Linked DNA regions of Homo sapiens: regions 2, 3, 4, 5 and 6 are each linked to region 1. The links are contacts of gene promoters, found by promoter capture Hi-C in human tissues and cell types (Jung and others, 2019). All regions are on one chromosome and are shown on one strand. Each heading gives the region's core, a stretch centred on a gene start or on the middle of the fragment in contact. The rest is flanking DNA. Distances are from core to core; before and after follow the strand shown.

The links. The method cuts DNA at HindIII sites, captures the fragments that hold promoters and counts their contacts. A contact is called where the count stands out against the background at its distance.
Region 2: a contact is called between a fragment that was not itself captured here and the fragment with the promoter of HTR2A in region 1, in 4 of the 25 tissues and cell types used here (H1 embryonic stem cells, lymphoblastoid cells, mesenchymal stem cells and 1 more).
Region 3: a contact is called between a fragment that was not itself captured here and the fragment with the promoter of HTR2A in region 1, in 3 of the 25 tissues and cell types used here (dorsolateral prefrontal cortex, lymphoblastoid cells and mesenchymal stem cells).
Region 4: a fragment that was not itself captured here is called in contact with the fragment with the promoter of HTR2A in region 1 in 1 of the 25 tissues and cell types used here (dorsolateral prefrontal cortex).
Region 5: a contact is called between a fragment that was not itself captured here and the fragment with the promoter of HTR2A in region 1, in 2 of the 25 tissues and cell types used here (dorsolateral prefrontal cortex and mesenchymal stem cells).
Region 6: a fragment that was not itself captured here is called in contact with the fragment with the promoter of HTR2A in region 1 in 1 of the 25 tissues and cell types used here (lymphoblastoid cells).

What each region holds. Positions count from the first base shown.
Region 1 is chr13:46,894,655-46,898,495 of GRCh38, reverse strand. HTR2A (5-hydroxytryptamine receptor 2A) reads left to right here and starts at 1,443. Exons shown (of 4, transcript NM_000621.5): 1 at 1,443-1,822; 2 at 2,262-3,001. The coding sequence starts at 2,590. The HindIII fragment of the contact is 6,478 bases long and covers 1-3,841 here.
Region 2 is chr13:47,313,229-47,316,831 of GRCh38, reverse strand. No RefSeq gene overlaps it. Among named protein-coding and RNA genes, the nearest start is that of HTR2A, 420 kb to the right of the region's middle. The HindIII fragment of the contact is 8,995 bases long and covers 1-3,603 here.
Region 3 is chr13:47,354,605-47,358,163 of GRCh38, reverse strand. No RefSeq gene overlaps it. Among named protein-coding and RNA genes, the nearest start is that of HTR2A, 460 kb to the right of the region's middle. The HindIII fragment of the contact is 4,983 bases long and covers 1-3,559 here.
Region 4 is chr13:47,236,761-47,240,641 of GRCh38, reverse strand. No RefSeq gene overlaps it. Among named protein-coding and RNA genes, the nearest start is that of HTR2A, 340 kb to the right of the region's middle. The HindIII fragment of the contact is 3,466 bases long and covers 747-3,881 here.
Region 5 is chr13:47,256,032-47,259,466 of GRCh38, reverse strand. No RefSeq gene overlaps it. Among named protein-coding and RNA genes, the nearest start is that of HTR2A, 360 kb to the right of the region's middle. The HindIII fragment of the contact is 5,283 bases long and covers 1-3,435 here.
Region 6 is chr13:47,151,823-47,155,270 of GRCh38, reverse strand. No RefSeq gene overlaps it. Among named protein-coding and RNA genes, the nearest start is that of HTR2A, 260 kb to the right of the region's middle. The HindIII fragment of the contact is 3,082 bases long and covers 58-3,139 here.

The DNA of each region.
Region 1 (3,841 bases), core at 194-2,693:
CAATTGTGTCATTAATATCAGTAAGAATATCAATAGGAATGAAAGTGGCTGACATTACTTGAGAACCTCCTATAAGCCAGACATGGGCCAAATACTTACACACATTATCTCAGTTTAGCTTCACTACAATCTTATGAGGAAGGTATTATCCCATTTTACAAGTGAGAAGACTGAGCTTTAAAGGGAGCAACTAGATGAGGCGAGGTTCTACTGTTTATGAGTGATAGAGCTAGGATCCAAAACCAAGGAACTCTAAGGTCTGTGTTCTCCGCTGCCTGCTCGCCAGCGTGCATATTTAACGTGGAGGGGTAGGAGGGTGGCAGGCATGGCAGTGAGGGGGGCACTAAGGCACCCACCCAGGAAATAGGTGGCTAGATCTCGACCACAGGGTGCCAGCTGCAGGCTGCAGGAGAGGACATGTGAGAAACACGCATACAGAGGTAGCACCGGAGACGAAGTGGGATCTGGCAGCGAGAATGAAGGAAGAGTCGCGGATAACAGCAGCTGTCTGAAGAGGTGGTGATTCCATCATGCAAGCCAATGGGTAGGAACAAGCACTGAGAGCCGGGCAGGGGGATGCGGAGTGAGGGAAGATGCTGAGGTCAAGGTCTCCCAGGCTACCATGGAAGGAGCCAATGGGCAGCTAGAGATTTAGGTCTGGAACTGAGAGAAATAATCAGCTATGAAGGTACAGACTTGGCCACAAACATATTGAAGGCATGAGAGTGGTTGAATTTGTCCAGGGAGAATGTGAAGAACAGAAGGTGATAGAACTGTAGCAAAACCCAACTATTGAGGAAAATATTTTCATGCCTGCAAAAAGAGAGAGATCGAACTGCCTCCTTTAGAAACCTACTTGGGAAAGGGCTTTCTTTACAAGTAAGGCAAGTTGTCATTACTGGTGGGGGAAAAAAATTGGTACTGCGAAACCAACTTATTTCCTACCACATGTGAGGTTTTGAATAATATCTGGGTGGCATATTTCTGCTGAAGAAAATAAGCCAGTTCAATGGTGTATCTATTAAATAAAAATAGTGCTAATAGTTTATCAGAGTTATCACCACAGACGTGCCTAGCCACCCTGAGCCTATGTGGCCAATGTCAGTAATTCCACTCTGGACACAAACACTGTTGGCTTTGGATGGAAGTGCCGGACACTCACAGCACTCCGAGGACATACTGTTTTCTAGCCTTATTTATGTTCTCTCTTCACCCTTCAGCCTAAAAAATTACCACAGTGCCACTTACCTACCTTAATGGGAATCTGCACAAAAGGCCATTTCTCCAGTTTCTCTCAAAAGCAAAGGAAAACTTCCCAATATTAATATGTAGCAAAAAGAGGGAGAAGAAAAAGCCTGTTTGGTCCGCCCTCCTGGCTGTTGCTACCTTGCAGCTTATGACATACACATAGAGGGAGGTCTGATGAAATGAACGAGACAGTCAGAGAGCTACTCCATTCCCGTGGAAACCAGGAGTCCCTTGGTGCAGACAGCTCTTCCTACTTTCCCATGCAGTTCTTTTGTGCGACTTTGAGGGGCTCGTGAATGATTTCTAAATGTGTGCCTGCTGAGGCGAGCCGCACAGGGAGGGAGGAACCCAGCCGAGCCGTGCCAGAGGAAGCCAACAGGATCCTAGCAGTGCGGGAGCTGGCTCAGCTCTTGCATGCAGTTTTTGAAGTCAGCAAAACAGAAACCAAATTACTATCATATTATGCTGGTGGAAGATCAAGAAGAGGGGACTCTACACCAGTTTAATTACTGTGAGAGATGCAGCGAGTCACAGAATAACAAATGTATCTCATGTGTGGACCCTGAAGACAAATGTAAGTTCTCATGCCGCTATATTTTATTGCTGTGTAATTTTCTTTCCGGTTTGAAATCATGCTTGGCCAACATGTAATCATTTCAATGAGAATTTCCAGGGAGGAAAGTTGTCTGCTAATCTTTACTTAAGACTTTTTTGTTTTCCTTTTATTAGCTAAGCAACATTATAGGAGCTGAAATTCCTGACAGCAGCTGTGGCAATTCAGCTTAAGAATGGCTGAGAACTGTAACCCAAAGTACATCCAATTACTATGGGATTAACACTGGATGTATTTTTAATTGACTTTCTTAATGTAGAATGTGTACATCCCCACTGTTTCTGATTGCATGCTATTTTAATAATACTGTTGCTAAACTAGTACCATCGGCATAACCAACAAAATGAGATATAGTTAAACAAGAGTCCCAGTAGTTATAAAACTTTTCTTCTTTGTCCAGGACATTTATCTTCCCGAGCGCTCAAAAAAAACCCTGCAACCTCTATGCTAAAAGTTCATTCTGCTTTTTTGTCCTCGGTTTGGTGAGAAAATAATAAAACCAAACAGTGGACTCTCCTAAAATTGTGAATGAAGAAAACTTACAGCCACCACAGTTCAGTTCTTTAACTATCATTGTAATAATGGAAGACAAAAATCCAGCCCCGGGAGAACAGCATGTACACCAGCCTCAGTGTTACAGAGTGTGGGTACATCAAGGTGAATGGTGAGCAGAAACTATAACCTGTTAGTCCTTCTACACCTCATCTGCTACAAGTTCTGGCTTAGACATGGATATTCTTTGTGAAGAAAATACTTCTTTGAGCTCAACTACGAACTCCCTAATGCAATTAAATGATGACACCAGGCTCTACAGTAATGACTTTAACTCCGGAGAAGCTAACACTTCTGATGCATTTAACTGGACAGTCGACTCTGAAAATCGAACCAACCTTTCCTGTGAAGGGTGCCTCTCACCGTCGTGTCTCTCCTTACTTCATCTCCAGGAAAAAAACTGGTCTGCTTTACTGACAGCCGTAGTGATTATTCTAACTATTGCTGGAAACATACTCGTCATCATGGCAGTGTCCCTAGAGAAAAAGCTGCAGAATGCCACCAACTATTTCCTGATGTCACTTGCCATAGCTGATATGCTGCTGGGTTTCCTTGTCATGCCCGTGTCCATGTTAACCATCCTGTATGGTGAGTGGCATTAGTTTCCCAGCTATATTCGCACTGGTAATAAAGAGCATGTGCATGCCACCAGCAGATGAGATGGGGCTCAGGGGGCAAACAAACTATAAATAGAAGTCTTTGTTTATAGACTAGAGCCTACTATGTTACTTATATTTTACTCTTAAAATGGGATTTCACATAAAAATCAGACAGTCTATGACCTGTGATCACTGGAGAGTTTTGTGCTTCAAAACGCGTACATCCTGTGTAAAAATGATCATTGGAGAGTTTTGTGCTTCAAAACATGTACATTTAATGTAGAAATTTTTATAAATTACCCCATACAGTCATAAACCAATAACTTACCCATCATTCTGAATCTACTTGATTTTTGCTTCTTTATATTCCCAACCAATATTCCAGCCTTCAGGACAGAACAGTTTTAATCTTTGTCACACAGTTTTCAGCACTTTTAATGGAGTGATAAAGCCTTCCCAATTACTTTGGAACATTTGCAGAGAGAACATTAGTGGTGCAATAGGTTTTATGTTAAAATATGCAGAACCTCAATTAGAATAAATGAATTACTCCAGTTTTAATTGTTCCCTGCCCAGAGAAGCTAATTTGGAAATGTGCCTTTGAATTATATCCTCAACTCTTTGAAAATGCATATGCATAAACTCCTCCAGTCTGGTTTGGAGGAGGGTGGGAAACAAATGGGAAGGGATTAATCTTGCTTTCTTCTCAACAGAGTTTGAAACAGTCAGACCTCTCAGCAAGGGACCAGAATGTGATATTCTTTCCAAATTATGAGTAATACAGCCAGATACCTCCTTAAAGGAGAGACTATTGTGACTGCTGACACAG
Region 2 (3,603 bases), core at 520-3,019, 420 kb before region 1:
AAGCCCTGCATGCATTAAGGTATTTTTCCTAATGCTATCCCTCCCCTTCTCCCCACCCCCCAACAGGCCCTGGTGTGTGATGTTGCCCTCCCTATGTACATGTGTTCTCATTGTTCAACTCCCACTTATGAGTAAGAACATGTGGTGTTCGGTTTTCTGTTCCTGTGTCAGTTTGCTGAGAATGATGGTTTCCAGCTTCATCCATGTCCCTGAAAAGGACATGAACTCATTGTTTTTTAAGGCTGCATAGTATTCCATGGTATATATGTGTCATATTTTCTTTACCCAGTCTATTAGTGATGGGCATTTGGGTTCAGTCCAGTCTTTGCTGTTGTAAATAGTGCTGCAATAAGCATACGTGTGCATGTGTCTTTATAGTAGATTGATTTATAATCCTTTGGGTATATACCCAGTGATGGGATTGCTGGGTCAAATGGTATTTCTGGTTCTAGATGCTTGAGGAATCGCCACACTGTCTTCCACAATGGTTGAACTAATTTACACTCCCATCAACAGTGTAAAAGCATTCCTATTTCTCCACATCCTCTCCAGCATCTGTTGTTTCCTGACTTTTTAATGATCGCCATTCTAACTGGCATGACATGGTATCTAATTGTGGTTTTGATTTGCATTTCTCTAATGATCAGTGATGAGGAGCATTTTTTATATATGTTTGTAGGCTGTATAAATGTCTTCTTTTGAGAAGTGTCTGTTCATATCCTTCACCCACTTTTTGATGGGGTTGTTTATTTCTTTTCTTTTCTTATAAATTTGTTTAAGTTCCTTGTAGATTCTGGATATTAGCCCTTTGTCAGATGGATAGATTGCAAAAATTCTCCCATTCTGTAGGTGGCCGGTTCACTGTGATGATAGTTTCTTTTGCTGTACAGAAGCTCTTTAGTTTAATTAGATCCCATTTGTCAATTTTGGCTTTCGTTGCCATTGCTTTTGGTGTTTCAGTCATGAAGTCTTTGCCCATGCCTATGTCCTTAATGGTATTGCCTAGGTTTTCTTCCAGGGTTTTTATGGTTTTAGGTCTTACGTTTAAGTCTTTAATCCATCTTGAGTACAGAACAGAGGCCTCAGAAATAACACCACACATCTACAACCATCTGATCTTCGACAAACCCAACAAGAAAAAGCAATGGGGAAAGGATTCCCTATTTAATAAATGGTGTTGGTAAAACTGGCTAGCCATATGCAGAAAACTGAAACTGGACCCCTTCCTTACACCTTATACAAAAATTAAGCACCTTTTCATATGCTTGTTTAACTGCTTGGATATCATGTTTAGGAAAGTGTCTGTTCAACTTTGCTCTTTTTTCTAATGAGTTAATCCTTCCTTCCTTCTTTCCTTCCATGTTTTAAAAAATATACTGTATTTTTTAGAGCAGTTTCAGATTTACAGAAAACTTGTAGAAATTATTTTCTGTTAACACGTAGGAGTTCCTTTTATGTTCTAGAAACATGTTTTCTGCTATTTCTATGTATTGCATATATTTTATCCTACGCCATGATTTGACTTTTTATTCTCTCAGTATCGTTTGACAAGAGGTTCTCAATTTGAATGTAATTTACAAAACTTTTCCTTCAGCATTAGCATTTCTTGTGACAAGATATCTTCCCCATCCCAAGGTCATGACAATATCTTGTCCCCTACCTCATATCATATCAACAAATCAATTTCTGGTGACACATACACTCAAATTTTTTGTCCACTTTGTAGTATGTTGTTTATTTTGAGTTATAAGAATTCCTTATGTATTACAAATACAAATCCTTTTTCAGATATCTGTTTTGCAAATATTTTTCCCAGTCTATGACTTGCCTTTACTTCTTCTTATCATTGTCTTTTGAAGAAGAAAAGTTTTATTACAAATTAAACTTCAATTTATTAATCTTTTATTCTATACTTTATGCTTTTTAATGTCATGTTTTAAAAAATCACTGCTAAGCTTAAGGTTACTAAGATTTTTCTCCTAAATGTATCTCTGGATTTTATATCACTTTAATTTATATTTAGTCCTGTGACTCAAGTTAATTTTTATGTATTGTTTGAGGATCATATTTTTGCATATGAATATCTACTTGTGTCAGCACAACTTTTTGAAAAATTATCCTTTGCCACTGAATTGCTTTGAGACATTTATTAAAAATCAATACACACACACACACACACACACACACACACACATATATATATATAGGTTTATTTCAGGATTCTTTATTCTGTTCCATTGATATATTTGTCTACTTCTATATCAGCCCTACACTGTTTTTATTGCTATAGCTTTATAGTAAATTTTGAATCAGATAGTGTTCTTTTTCAAAGTTGTTTTGGCTATTTTTAGTATTTGGCATTTTCTTTGTAAATTTTAGAATCAGTTTGTTAATTAAAAATATACCTGATGGAATTTTAATAGGAATTGTATTGATGCTGTAGATCAATTTGGGGAGAATTTATATATTAACAACATGAGGCAGGGCACAGTGGCTCAGGCCAGTAATTCTAGCACTCTGGGAGGCTGAGGTGGGTGGATCACCTGAGGTCAGGACTTTGAGACCAGCCTGGTCAACATGATGAAACTCTGTCTCTACTAAAAATACAGAAATTAGCCGGGCGTGGTGGAGAACACCTGTAATCCCAGTTACTCGGGAGGCTGAGGCAGGAGAAGTGCTCCAACCCAGGAGACAGAGGTTGCAGTGAGCCAAGATTGCACCAGTGCTCTCCAGCCTGGGCAACAGAGTGAGACTCTGTCTCAAAAAAACAATATGACTCTTCTAATCCATAAATACCTCTCCATTTGTATAGCTTTTCTTGTATTTCTCTCACCAGTGTTTGCAGTTTTCAGAAAATTTTGGATATTCCATGTTCATAAATTACAAGAATCGATATAGTTAAAATGTCCGTGGTTCCCAAAGCAATCTATAGATTCAGTGCAGTTTCTATCAAAATATCAATGACACTCTTCACAGAAATATAAATAGAAAAACAATCCTAAAATTTATATAGAACCACAAAAGACCCAGACAGGTATACATTGGTCTGTAGTTTTGTTTTTTTGTTATGTCTTTTCCTGGTTTGGGTATTAAAGTGATACTAGCTTCATAGAATGATTTAGGAGGGATTCCCTCTTTCTCTATCTTTCAGAATAGTTTCAATAGGATTGGTATCAATTCTTTGAATGTCTGATAGAATTCAGCTGTGAATCCATCTAGTCCTAGATTTTTTTGTTGTTGTTGGCAATGTATTTATTACCATTTCAGTCTTGTTGCTTGTTATTGGTCTGTTTGGAGTTTCTATTTCTTCCTGGATTAATCTAGGAGGGTTGCATATTTCCAGGAATTTACCCATCTCCTCTATGTTTTCTAGTTTGTGCATGTAAAAGTATTCATAGTAGCCTCGAATGATCTTTTGTATTTCTGTGGTATCAGTTGTAATATCTCCTGTTTCATTTTTAATTGAGGTTCTTTAGAGATTCTCTCTTCTTTTCTTGGTTAATCTTCATAATAGACTATCAATTTTATTTATCTTTTCAAATAACCAGGTTTTTGTTTCATTTATCTTTTGTATCTTTTTTGTTTCGATTTCACTTAGTTCTG
Region 3 (3,559 bases), core at 723-3,222, 460 kb before region 1:
GTTACTTTAAAAAATGCTAAACATCATGAAAACAAACAAACCAATTAAGAAATGGACCAAAAATATGAACAGACTCCTTGCCAAAGATATACAGATGGTAAATTAACACATGAAAAATGCTGCATGTCATTTGTCATTTAGAAAATGTAAATTACAACAACAGTGAGATACTAGTACCTATTAAAATGGCTAACATTTAGAAAAATTCAAAACTTTGACATTACCAGTTGCTCATGAGGCAACTGCAACTGTTATGTTGTAACCATAAAGAAAAAAACCTGTAGTAGATACACAAAAGATGAGCAGAAGGGAATCAAAGAATACCACTACAAAAAGTCATCAAATCACAAAGGGGGGACAGAAAGAAAGTGCAAGGAACTACAAAACAGTCAAAAAACAATTAACAAAGTACAATAGTAAGTCCTTTCCTATCAGTAATTACCTCATTTATCTTTTGTGTCACAGTTTTAAGAATTAAATTCTTCAAAAGATACAGTGACTGAATGGATAAAAATGTTCTAACTACATGCTCCTTACAAGAGACTCATTTTAGCTTTAAGGGCACACATATGGTGAAAGTTAAAATATGGAGAAAGATATTCCATGCTAATGGTTAAAAAAAAAGAGCAGGAGTGGCTATACTTATATCAGTCAAAAAAAATCTTTAAGTCAAAATAGTCAAAAGAGACAAAGAAGGCCATTATATAATAATAAAAGGGCCAATTAATCTAGAGAATATAACAATTGCAAAAATGTATGTGTGAAACACTAGTCATGTAATTAAATAAATAAAGTATTAACTGCATGGAAGAGAGAAGTATAAAGCAATAGAATGTAGTAGGGTCCTTCAGTACTCCACTCTTAACAATGGATAGATCATCCAGACAGAAAAATCAAAGAGGGAACAGCTGACTGGAACATTATAGAGCAAATGGACCTAACAGACATATACAGAACATCCCATCCAGAAGCAGCAGAGTACACATTTTTCTTGAGTGCACATGGAACATTCTCCAAGATAGGTCATACGTTAGGCCATAAAACAAGTCTTAACAGCTTCAGAAAGATTGAAATCATATGAAATCTCTGCTGACTACAATGGTATGAAACTAGAAATCAGTAACAGAAGAAAAATGAAAAATTCACAAATATGTGAAAATTAAACAACACACTCCTGAACAATTAATGGGTCTGAGATAAAAACTTAGGAAAACAAAACCTAAAAAGGGAAATAAAACCATATCTTGAGACACAAAAAAAATGGAAAACGATGTTAGGGAAATAAAATCATATTTTGAGACACACAAAAAATGGAGACACAACATATCAAAACTTACAAGTCTTCAAAAACAGTTCTAACAGGGAAGCTTATAGCAATAAACAGTTAGATTGAGAAAAAAGAAAAGATCTCAAATAAACAACCTGTCTTTACACCTCAAGAAACCAGTAAAATAAGAACGAACTATGCCAAAAAATAGCAAGACAGAAACAAAATAGCAGAAATCACTAGGTAGACTGACTAAAAAAAGAGAGAAGACCCAAATCAAATCACAGAGAGACAAAGGATCATGAGCGACTACTATGAACAATTATAAGTTAACAAATGAATTAACCTAGAAGGAATGAATACATTCTTAGAAATATAACCTACTAAGATTGAGTCATGAAGAAACAGAAAATCAGAAAATACTAATAATGAGTAAGGAGGTTGATTCAGTAATCTAAAACCTCTGAACAACAAGAACAACAACACCTAAGGCCAGACGGCAACACTGGTAAATTCTACCAAATATTTAGAGAAAATTAATGTCAATACTCTCAAACACTTCCAAAAAATTGGTGAGGAGAAAAAACTTCCAAAACCATTTTATGAGTCCAACATTAATAAGAAAGCAACACAAGAACAATACAAAAAATTTCAGGCCAACATCCCTGATGAATATAGCCACAAAAATCCTCCACAAAATACTAGCAAACCAAATTCAATGGCACATTTACAGATAAATTAAAAGATACCCCATGTTCATGTATTGAAAGAATTAATATTGTTAAAGTGTCCGTACTACCCAAAGCAATCTAAGAATTCAGTGCAATCTCTACCAAAATCTGATGATATTTTTCTCAGAAATAGAAAAAAAAATTAAATGCATATGGACCCACAAAAGACCCCAAACAATGAAAGTATCCATGGGTAAACAAAAACAAAAACAAAACAAAACAAAAAACTGGAGGCGTCACACTATCTGACTTCAAAATATGTTACAAAGTTATAGTAAACAAAACAGGATGGTACTGGCCTAAAAGACACACATAGACCAATGGAACCGAATAGAAAGCCCTAAATAAATCCACACACTTATAGTCAATTGATTTTCAGCAAAGGTGCCAAGAACACACAATGGAGAAACATAATGTTTCTTCAATAAAAGGATGCTGAGAAAACTGGATAATCACATGCAGGAGAATGAAATTAGATCTTCATCTCACACCACATACCGAAAAAAAAAGAGAAGACCCAAATCAAAATAGATTAAAGACTTAAATGTAAGACCTGAAACTGTAAAATCATTAGAAGAAAACCTAGGAGGAAAGCTCTATGACATTGGTCTGGATAATGATTTGTTTGAATATGACCCCCAAAACACAGGCAACAAAAGCAAAATTAAGCCAATGGGATTCCGTCAAACTAAAAGCTTCTGCACAGCAAAAGAAACAACCAACAGTGTAAAGAGATAACCTACAGAATAGGAGAAAGTATTTTCAAAGCATGTATTTGATAAGAGGTGAATATCCAAAACGTATAAGGAGGCTAAGCTTGTTGGCTCACACCTGTAATCCCAGCACCTTGGGAGGATGAGGTGAGAGGATCACTTGAGGCCAGCAGTTTGAGACCAGCCTGGGCAAAATAATGAAATCTTTTCTCTATTAAAAAGGAAAAAAATTATTAGGCATGGTGGTGTGTGCCTATAGTAGTCCAAGCTACATAGGAGGCTAAGGTGGCAGGATTGCCTGACCCCAGTAGTTGGTGGCTACAGTGAGCTATGATCACACCATTATACTGCAGCCTGGGTGACAGAGTGAGACTTTCTCTAAATATATTTCACACATACATATACATATTATATAATATGTGTATACTATATAATATATGTATATATGTAATATATACATATATATGTATGTGTGTATCTATCTATATACATATATATATTATATATATATTTAACTCAGACAACTTACTAGCCAAAAAACAAACAACTTAATTTAAAAATCAGCAAAGGACCTGAATAGATATTTCTCAAAAGAAGACATACAAATAGCCAACAGGTATATGGAAAAATGCTCAACATCACTAATTATCAGAGAAATGCAAATTAAAATCACAAAAAGATATGCCCTCACATTTGTTATAATGGCTATTATAAAACAGACGAATGATAAAAAGTATTGGCCAGGATGCGGAGAAAAGGGAACCCTTGCATACTGTTGGTGGGAATATAAATTAGCACAACCATTATGGAAAACTCTATGGAATTTTCTCAAAAATGAAAAAATAAAA
Region 4 (3,881 bases), core at 1,230-3,729, 340 kb before region 1:
TTCCATTCTAACATCCCAGAAAACAAGGTAAGAGGCCCAAATTAAGAAGCCTGTTCAACCATTGCGGAAGACAGTGTGGCAATTCCTCAAGGTTCTAGAACTAGAAATACCATTTGAGCCGGCAATCCCATTACTGGGTATATGACCAAAGGATTATAAATCATTCTACTAAGACACACACACACGTATGTTTATTGCAGCACTGTTCGCAATAGCAAAGACTTGGAACCAACCCGAATGATGACCAGTGACATATTGGACAAAGAAAATGTGGCACATATATTCCATGGAATACTATGAAGCCATAAAAAAGATGAGTTCATGTCCTTTGCAAGGACATGGATGAAGCTTGAAACCATCATTCTCAGCAAACTAACACAGGAACAGAAAACCAAACACCACATGTTCTCACTCATAAGTGGGAGTTGAACAATGAGAACACATGGACACAGGGAGGGGAACATCACACACCAGGTCCTGCTTGGGGGGATGGAGGGCTAGGGGAGGGATAGCATTAGGAGAAATACTTAATGTAGATGACGGGTTGATGGGTGCAGCAAGCCACCATGGCACATGTATACCTATGTAACAAACATGCATGTTCTGCACACATATCCCAGAACTTAAAGTATAATAATTTAAAAAAACAACAACAACAGAAAAAGAAGCCTGGCCAAGTGCAGTGGCTCATGCCTGAAATCCCAAGTTTGGGAGGCTGAGGCAGGAGGATTGCTTGAGCCCAGGAGTTCAGGACCAGCCTGGGCAACACAGGAAGACCCTGTTTCTACAAAAAATTAGAAAATTAGCCAGGTATGGTGGCACATGCCTGTAGTCCTAGCTACTTGGGAGGCTCAGGCAGGAGAATCATTTGAGTCCAGGAGTTCAAGGCTGCAGTGAGCTATGATCACACCACTGCATTCTGGCTTGGGCAACAGAGTGAAACCCTGTGTCCAAAAAAAAAAAAAAAAAAAAGATAAATATGCTAGGGCTGGGCACAGTGGCTCAGGCCTGTGATACTAGCACTTTGGGAGACTGAGGTGAGGGGCTCGAGACCAGCCCTGAAGTCATAGGTTCAAGACAGTCCTGGGCAACAGAGTGAGGGCCCATCTCTTAAAATACAAAAAAAAAGAAGAAGAACCTTAAGCTTACACTATCTTTGTTTTTCAGGTTAACTCAGCCACATGTGATACTCAGTTCAAAGTTCAAACTCCCAATCATTCCTCTTTTCCCATCAGAGTTTTCCTTCCTTCTCCCCTTTTCTGAGACATGTCTGGATTCAGGATGAACCTTATTTATCCTCATGGATTTATGAGGAGAAGCTTCTGTGGCATAGGTTTCCTTCCTGCTTTCCTGGTCTCTTTAGTAGTGTGCCTGGTTTGCTCTGGACTCTGTGCTGGTATCCACCTGGATGTTCCTACTCCCACTTGGACTTTTGGCCTTGTCCTGGCTCCTGATGCTGAAGTCTACAGTGACTGTAATTTGCCGTGGATATGAGGTCCCTGCGCTCTATAACAGGGCTTAGCAAACTTTTTCTATACAGGGATAGAAAGTAAATACCTTAGACTTCGTAGATCACATGCAGTCTCTGTCACATACTTTTCTTGTTGTTTACTATTGTTCTCCTCCTCCTGTTCCTTCCTCCTTTTCCTCTCATTTTCTTCCCTCTCTTCTGTCACCTTCATCTTCTTCTTTTCTATAGTCCTTTAAAATTTTTTTAAAATTATATCTCAGGGCTGTAAAAAGGTAGGCTGTAACAGGAGTTGGCCTGCAGACCACAGTTTGCCAAACCCTGCCCTGCGGCCTTTGTCTTCTGACCTTGGGTCCCTTCCTATTCCCCTACATGGATCCACATTCCTGGTATGCAGTCTATGGAAGACTGTAGACTATTATTACAGGTCCGTCTATCAAGAAAACTCCCTCTACTCACAGCTTCATTGCTTTTGCACCATTTTGATCCCAGAAACAGAGCAACAGCCAGAATGTTCTTTCATTCCCTCTCAACCTAGCTGGGTTTTTTGTTGGGATTTGATTGCTCGAGGCCCAGGAGATACGAGGTGCTAGGTCTGCTTTCAGGGACTCTGGCGGCAACATTCCCATTCTAGTGACATCGTCACTAAATTCCTCTGCTTTTCCTCTCAGCAAAGGGCTTTCTACTTATGTGGGGTGGGTTATGTCTTATGATAAACCATGGTTTATAGTAAAACTCTTCTACTATGTTATATTAGCCTTGTATTTTACTACATAGAAGGGAGATTTGGGAATTGAGGAAACAACTTTCATTCTCAACCAAGCTTAGTTTTATGTAAACTTCAAGATTGTTTTTTGTTTTGGAAATGGACAATTAAAAGCAGATCATTTTTCAATACAACATATTTCCCAATACATTCCTGAAATAATTATCCTAAGTCCCCATGTTACATAATTACTGTCTGATTTATCCATTACTCAGATGTACACAAGTTTTCTTAAGCAAGGGTGCACTGTATGTATTTCAAGTTACTAGACATCTAAACTGTTTACTGCTGACCATGAATTTGCCATACTTTGCAGGAAACATTCAGCTTCAGGGTAAAGTCAAGTATTCTAAAGTCGTATATTATAATCATCTATTTAAATATTTTAAGTGATCATTTATTCATAAGGCCCTACTTTTTTCTTCCCAAGATATTTGGCATGATGCAACAGCAATTAAACGGCACTTATAATCATAATCACAGCAATTATTATGTTTTCTGGCAGCTCTGTGCCACCCTTACATAGCAAGCCTCCAGAGATGTGTTCTGCCTCTGGAACAGAGAACATCTGCCCTCAGCAGTGGCTCCAGCCTGTGCTCCTGCCTGGATCACTCATGAGAGCCTCTGTAGTGACTCTGCCATACCCTAGGAACCATCGTCAGTGACTCAGTGTCACCCAGCAAATGAGAAGGCTGCTACAGTGCTTAGCTGCCCTTTTCCTCTCATAAAGATTCTTCATTCTTTGATATTTGCAGAGTTAAATACAGCAGATTTAAAATTCCAAATGCATCCTACTTTAGATGCCCAGAAATATGGCTCAAGCTTTGATTACAGAAAGAAGTAAAATGTATGAGATGGTTCACTGTGAATTTAAAAATAATTTTCAAAAAAGCTGGATTTCATTCAGAAAGGCCAAAGCTGCTTGCCTGCTTGCTTGTGCCTATGTTCTTGTTTTCTCTCTCTCTCTCTCTCTCTCTCTCTGTGTGTGTGTGTGTGTGTGTGTGTGTGTGTGTTTAAGAGGAGGAAGAAATGTCCAGTCCAGCATCATGAGCCTCCTTCTTCCTGAGATCCCTGGAGAATATGAGAATATGAGGTGGACACCACTGGGCTAGGCTGTTAAGGAATTGAACCTCCCACCTGCCTGGTCTGAAATTCCAGCATTAGAACCACCTCTTCTGGGAAATGTTCTTTTGCCTTTTCAAGCAGGGTCATGGGTTGCCTCTTCTATACTCCCACAGCTAAGGTGATTAAGTGTCCCAGTTTGCCAGGAACTATACCATTTTTGAAAAAAATGAAAGTCCCATATCCCAGAAAACTCAGGAGTCCTGGGCAAACCAGGGCAGTTTGTCACCATACTACTGTGTTCAAGGGTCAGTGTTTACACTATTATAATCATCTAGTTAGCTGCTGGTTGCCCTCATTAAATGTAAACTCCTTGAAGGTAGAAATTATGTCAAGCTCTAAAAAATTTTTTTGTTGAAAGAATGAAGGAGCATTTGAGAGAATGAGTAAGTGAATGAATGAATGAATGAATGAATGCATGGATGGAACTAATTAGTCTGATAAGGTTATCTATAGTTTTGAGAGGTTCATTTATCATTTTTCCTGAGAGGAGAGAAGCAAGATACTTCTCCTTCAGTAAATTTA
Region 5 (3,435 bases), core at 105-2,604, 360 kb before region 1:
GGAACAGCAGCTAGTATTGTATTATGTAACACACACAGACACAATCTTTAGGACATGCTCAGCACTTGAATAAAAGACCACCTCTGTAGTGAATTGGTAAGAGAATGCATAGTTCTACTTTGTTAAATTGAGTGTTAGCGTAGAGCCTAATCAGAGCTGTGAAGTTGACAAAAATTGTCTCCATGCCACAACCTTTATGCTTTCAACCTTTATTTTGTGACTTTCCCACCTTTCCATAATTTCCACTATTAGCCCCTCCCCAACTTATTTCATAAATTTATATCCTTATGCTCTTCACACTTGCTGTCTTGAAAAAGAGAGTCTTGTATTATCTTCATAAACTCAGCACTACTTCTAATAAAAGTTATAATTTTTTTCTAGAAAAAAATGGATTTTGAATCCCAGAAACGAAGGGATGTAAAACTGCAAGTAATGTGAAATTTCACACACATGCTGGGGGAGGTGGAGGAAATTTGAGGATATGAGGAATCCGATCAATTTACCAGAAGGGTATACACTGTCTTGTAAGAGCAGCCCCCTTTTCAACTACATAACTCCAAGCCTGTGTCCTCTCTGGTCTCAGGCTACACCACACTAGGAATTAAAATGTGGCCAATTCATAATACTTATCCATGATTTGCTCATTCTTAGCCACAGCTCCTAACACGCTTCCCGTATCTCAGAAAATTCTCTCTGGGAATCTCTGAAGTCATGTAGGAATTCTCAAGTGACCTTTTCCTACTCTTCTGCTTTAATCTCATCACTGAAGTTCATTGCCCAAGAACCCACCTGGTGCATGCATGTCTCATGGCTACAGCCCCAGTGTCACCATGGAATCTGGCGTTCTTGGCAAAGATGCTGTCTTTAGGAGCTGTCCAAGTGCCTCGAGGTGTCAGTGTGAAGCAAACAATCAGAATCATCTCTAGTTTGGAGCTGCTGCTCCATATGGAAGGAATGAGAAAGCCTCCCCAATTCTCAGGTTCTTGAGTGAACACTGCTGTTTTACCCTCCTATCCAGAAGAATCCTTGTAAAAATAGTGCCTCATGAGAAATACAGCCCCTCTTTCCATAGATTTCAGTTCTCAGTTCTTAGAATTGAATCAGCTAGATTTGGCTGGGCTGGGCCAAGAAGGGGACCCTATCAACTGTGAGATGGAGACCCAGGAAGGGGACCCACTCCAAGCTGTCTCTTTTGTCAGCAGAGGAGAAAGCTCTCTAACCCTCCTTTCACTAAAAAGCCTCATTCAGATCATGCCACTGCACTCCAGCCTGGCAGACAGAGTGAGACTCTGTCTCAAAAAAAAACAAAAAACCCCTCATTCAAATGGACTCCTGGCAGCAGCCCTGCTAGTTGATGTACAGTCATATCTAAATCCCAGTTAAGGGTTAAGCTGTGACTTCTATTACATATAAAAGTAAATTTAAGAAATAGGGTAGTAATATGAATAGCATTACACATATACTAATGACTAACATTTATTGAGGCTATGTACTAATCACTCTAAGTACGTCTTCAGCATTTTCTGATTTAAACACTATCAAACTCTGCAAAAGATATTATTCTTTTTTCTACATTATAAAAAAGGAAACTAAGGTAGAGAGAGTTAAACAACTGTCCAAGTTAACACATCTAGGAATTTTCTGAGCCTGGATATGAAACCTAAATATGAAGCTCACAGCCACTGTCCTCTGCACATGGTCACCAGGGACTGACTTTCAAGTTGCATGCCCTGCTGAGTGCTCTTTTATTATATGTAGCTAGGCAGAATCTATAGCTCTTGGATAACCCTTTTGATCTTGTACAATTTTAAACAGATATGACAAAGACCACTTGAAGCCAAGGTAATAATAAGGAATTCTACCAAGGACAGAATTTTTTCTGGGTAGGCAACTGTGTGATTAGAGGCACCCCTATCCACTCACTCTTTTCACAGAGTCTAAACATCTTTTAGTCTCAAAGTCTCTTGAATCTGAGACCCTCATACAAAGGACAGTTAACTACATAACAAAGATTCTGTTTTTGAGGGATACCAGGAGATACTAAGATGGGAAAATACATGGGAAATGTCAGGTAACCAAAAGACAGGGAGTGTCCAAAATAGGCTGTATTGTCTTGCCCAAGGTAAGCCCTGATCCTGGACTCATACAGGTGTGTGCTGCTATTCACACTCTTGGGGCTTACCAAAGTCAGTTGCTTCTTTTCAATTCCCATGCTATTGTCGTCCCTGCAGTATTTGACACCCCCTTTTCCTTTACTCTTTTTCCCAAAACTCCCTTAATATTAGAGTGTTAGTCAGCTTTTGTTGCACCTGCAAACAACCCCCAAATCAATGGCTTTCAAAACCCAATATTTATTTCTTGTTCACATTGCATGGGACCTGCAGATTGGCTATAGCCTTGGCAGGGATCCATGTGTCTTCTCATTTTGGAACCCATGATGAAGGATTAGCCACCATCTGGCCCATCCTCTTGTCACAGTGGATGATAGGAACAAAAGAAACAGAGACATTGCATGCACAACAATTAAAGCTTCTGCTCAGATATGGTGTGTGTCATGACTGGTAAGCATCCGTTGGCTTAAGTGAGTACACTTCCTCTTCAGGGGTGTGGAAATGGACATGAGCAGAATGAATGATGGGAAAATTGTAGGATGAACAATAACTGGGTCTCCTCCAATTTCTCTGACTGTGCCTGAGTCACAGAAGCTGGTTCTTCTCTGTCTGAGCCTCTCAAAATGCTGCATGCTCTTGAGTTCTGTCCTTGCTGCCTTTTCCTCTCCCTCTGCCTGTTTTCCTGAGTCCAGCCTGTCCATATCTGTGGTATCAGCTGCCAATATCTCTGCATCTACATCTTTAGTTCCACTTCTCTCCTTGACTTTAGGCCCACTTTCCCTATATATTGAATACTTCTATCTAAATATCTTTCCAATACCACAAACTGAAGTTATACAAAAACTAACTTATTATCTGAATGTCCTGAATTGCCTATTACCACCTCATGAATACAAAGTATTGACTGTTCTTTTTCCTTCTCTCCCTAAATCCAGTCATCGCAATAGCCTCATTTGTCTTCCCCACCCCGCTATCCCTGCCCTTCCAGTCCCTATACACCCTTATTGTCCTGTCAGTAGTAAGCCACTTATAGTGGGCTTCCAATTGGTGTCTCCTGCCCCAGATTCTTCCAGTTTAAATTCCTACTCCGTACACCTGTCAAAGTGATCATCTTAAAGCATGAAATAATCATAGTATTCCTACTTGATGGTCCTTTGGCCACCCTCTGTCAGTGCAGCTGAAACTGTTGGAACCACAGGAGTCCACACAGGTGCCTCACAGACCAACAAGGGGGAAAGGGTGGAAATTTATTCTCTCCTGTCTCTTAGTTTAGCCAAGGAAGCTCCAGTATAGCTAGACACCCTGTGCATGATTTGAATAAAGG
Region 6 (3,448 bases), core at 349-2,848, 260 kb before region 1:
AGGGAAGAAGGTAACTAGGTGGTAACTAGACACTAACATTTTATCAAGAAATGTTTGTTAAATGAATAATGAATAAATGGATCCATATCAAATGGCTAGTTATCTCTTTCATTATGTAGCTTGAAAACTGATGCAAATATTATTCTACCCAACCTAAAGACTGCCTCATCTTAGACTAGCATACATTGCTTTAGTCTTAGAATTAGACATAAATTAAGTTTTTCACAAAATTCCTGCAGCTATGATAGCTCTCAAGTTGTTGGAAGAATGGAGAGAAACTGTTTTAACTATATAACACCCACATGAACATGTATTTGGATTTGCACCATTAATAGGAAAAGCTTTTAATCCTCAGGAATAATTACTATTTGTGGCATTTTGCCTGTTCAGCATGTATACTTTATTTGGAAAACTAACTCCTCCACTATAAACATTTGTTTCTACTGAGCCTGCAATCATTGTATCTCATCTATCCAACCAGAAGTGTGTACATGATCCATCATACCAAGACTCAGCCAATCATAGCAAATTGCATGGTAAATATTTTAGGCTTTCATGACCAAAAAAGACAAAATGGAAGATATTATAGAGGTATGTAAAAAAACTAATGTAACCATTAAAAAATGTGAAAAACTTATTCTTATCCTGTGGTATTTAAAAAAAATTAAAAAGATGACAGGCCAGATTTGGCCCATGGACCACAGTATGTAAAGCCTATGTATTTCATTTTCCCAGCCACCCTGATTGGTTCAGGAGTAGACACGTTTCTCAAATCGGTCAACAAAAGTTTATATCTGAGATTTTTCAATTCAGTGCTGGAAGAAAAGGAAGCTTGCTTTTAGAACCATGAGAAAAGGATATAAATTACCCTGCTTGCTCTATGTCTATAAAGGGGGTGATACAGCTTAGCTGTATCCCCACCCAAAATTTCATCTTGAATGGTAATCCCCGTAATCCCCATAATTCCCTACATGTCAAGGGCAGAGGCAGGTGGAGGTAATTGGATCATGGGGGCAGTTTCCCCCATGCAGTTCTCATGATAATGCATGAGTCTCACGATATCTGATAGTTTTATAAGCATCTGGAGTTTCCCCTGCTTGCAGTCACTCTGTCCTGCCACCCTGTAAAGAAGGTGCCTGCTTCTCCTTTGCCTTCCACCATGATTGTAAGTTTCCTGAGGCCTCCCCAGCAATGCAGAACTGTGAGTCAATTAAACCTCTTTCCATTATAAATTACCCAGTCTGGAGTATTTCTTCATAGCAGTCCGAGAACAGACTAACACAGAGGGGAATAACGCCAAAACACAGAGAAATCAAGCGATCTGATTATTTCATTAGAGTCCCTACATCCATTTTTGCTTGGAGCAAGATCTACCTCTTTGTTTCCCAGTCACATAGGTCAATAAATTCCCTTTTAGATTTATTTATTTAGTTTCTCTTTTTTAGTTTTTTATTAGTTGTATTTCTTTCACTGGAAACCAGATAAAATTATAGCTATGTATATTTAGTATATACTTATATATAAATATATGTGTATGTACACATACACATCAATATATATTTACACATACAGACATAATACACATATATATTCAATAAATATATATTGAGGGCCTAATATTCACCAGATATTGTTCTAGGCACTGGAGATTCAAAGGTAAAATACATAGTTAGGCATGCTTTAAGAGTATCAGAAATTCTGGATTAAGATGGCACTTTAACCATATACATTTTCTTTCGTGCTCACCAAAAATCTCTCTAGGACAACAGTAAGGATTTTTTTTTTTTAAGTCATAAACTTAAAAGGACAAGGAGAGTAAGAGAAGATATAGCAACAAATTTTGGTAGCTGGAAAGCAGATGATTAAGAAAGCTCTCTTTTAATAGCCAATGCTAGGAAAAGCTAAGTGACTCACTAGTGGCCAATAACGGGGAAAACTAAGAAATAATCCAATTTATAACATTTATTAATGTTTCTTTTAATATACAGAAACATTAAAAGTTCCAGAAGCTGACAATTACCTCTGCAAGTAGAACTGATGAGCTTAAAAAAAAAAAAAGGAATTGAGGAATGACCAGATCCCCAAATTTTTCTCCTTCTCAATACTGGAGTTACCTTGTATACTTGGAAAGCATAAAACAGGTGGTTTTTGTACTGGGGGTGGTAACCAGAGTTGAAGATGGAACTGTGATGAAGATTAAGTACATATTTATATCCAGAATGAGGGAACACACACTTCCTTTTGCCACTCAGTTCCTCCAAGGACTCTTGAGTAGCCGAAAAAAATGAAAGAAATTCTCACCAGTAGACATCACAAGGAAATTACCTGGCCAGACACTCTACAGGGAAACCACAGTTAGAGAGTTATAAAGTAAAGCACACTAGTTCTGAGATTTCAGATCTTCTTTTTGCCCAAATCTTAAATTTGAATATATAGCCAAGGATTGGCAGACATCTGAATAAAGTTTCTAACATAAAAAGGACCAAAAGAATCATGTATCCATAGTGCACCTGGAAGGAACAGACTTCTCTGGGGCAAAATAATTTCAAAATAACTGTCACTACTATCCTCATAGAAAAAAAGAATATCATTAAAATAGCATTCTGAGAACAAAAAAAGAGCTTTTATAAATTAAAAATATTACAGAATAATTTTTAAAAGCCATAGAAGATTTGCAAAATAAAGCCCAAGAAATGCATATGAAATTAGACTAAGACATGGAAAATAGCAGGGGGGAAAAAGCAAGAATATTAGAAGACTAGATCTAGAGTTTCAATATCCAAACAAAGGAATCCAAATAGAGAATAGAGAAAATTGAAGGAAGGAAATCATCAACAAGTAATTTGTGAAAATTTTCCATTTATAAATGACAAAGGCTCCTAGATTACAAGGAGCAATTAAGAGACCAGCAGAGTAGATTAATATAAACACTCACCAAGGAACTCAAGGCACATCATCATGACATTCCGGCACTTCAGAACACTGACAACAAAGTGAAGATTGTAAAAGGTTTGAGAGAAGGAGAGAGAGAGAGAATATTATATACAAAGGTCAGAGGTAAGATTGACTTCTGACTTCTCAACACATGGAAGATAGAAGGCGGTGGAAAATGCCAAAAGCATTCTAAAGGAAAACAATGACCAACTATGTCAGAGCATCCCCAAGACCACCTCCCCAGATTCTGCAATTCACTAGAACTCACAGCACTCAGGATATAGTTGCACTAACTGCTATGGTTTATAACAGTGAAAGGGCACAAAACAAAATCAACAAAGGGAAAAAATCACTATGGGATGAAGTCCTGAGGATACTAGGCTTGAAACTACCAAGAGTCCTCTCCCAGTGGTGTCACAAGTGACATATTTAACTCTTCCAGCAATTAATTGTGATACCAAGAGTGAAATGTTGTCTACCAGAAAAGCTCATTAGAGATGCACTGCCCACATTT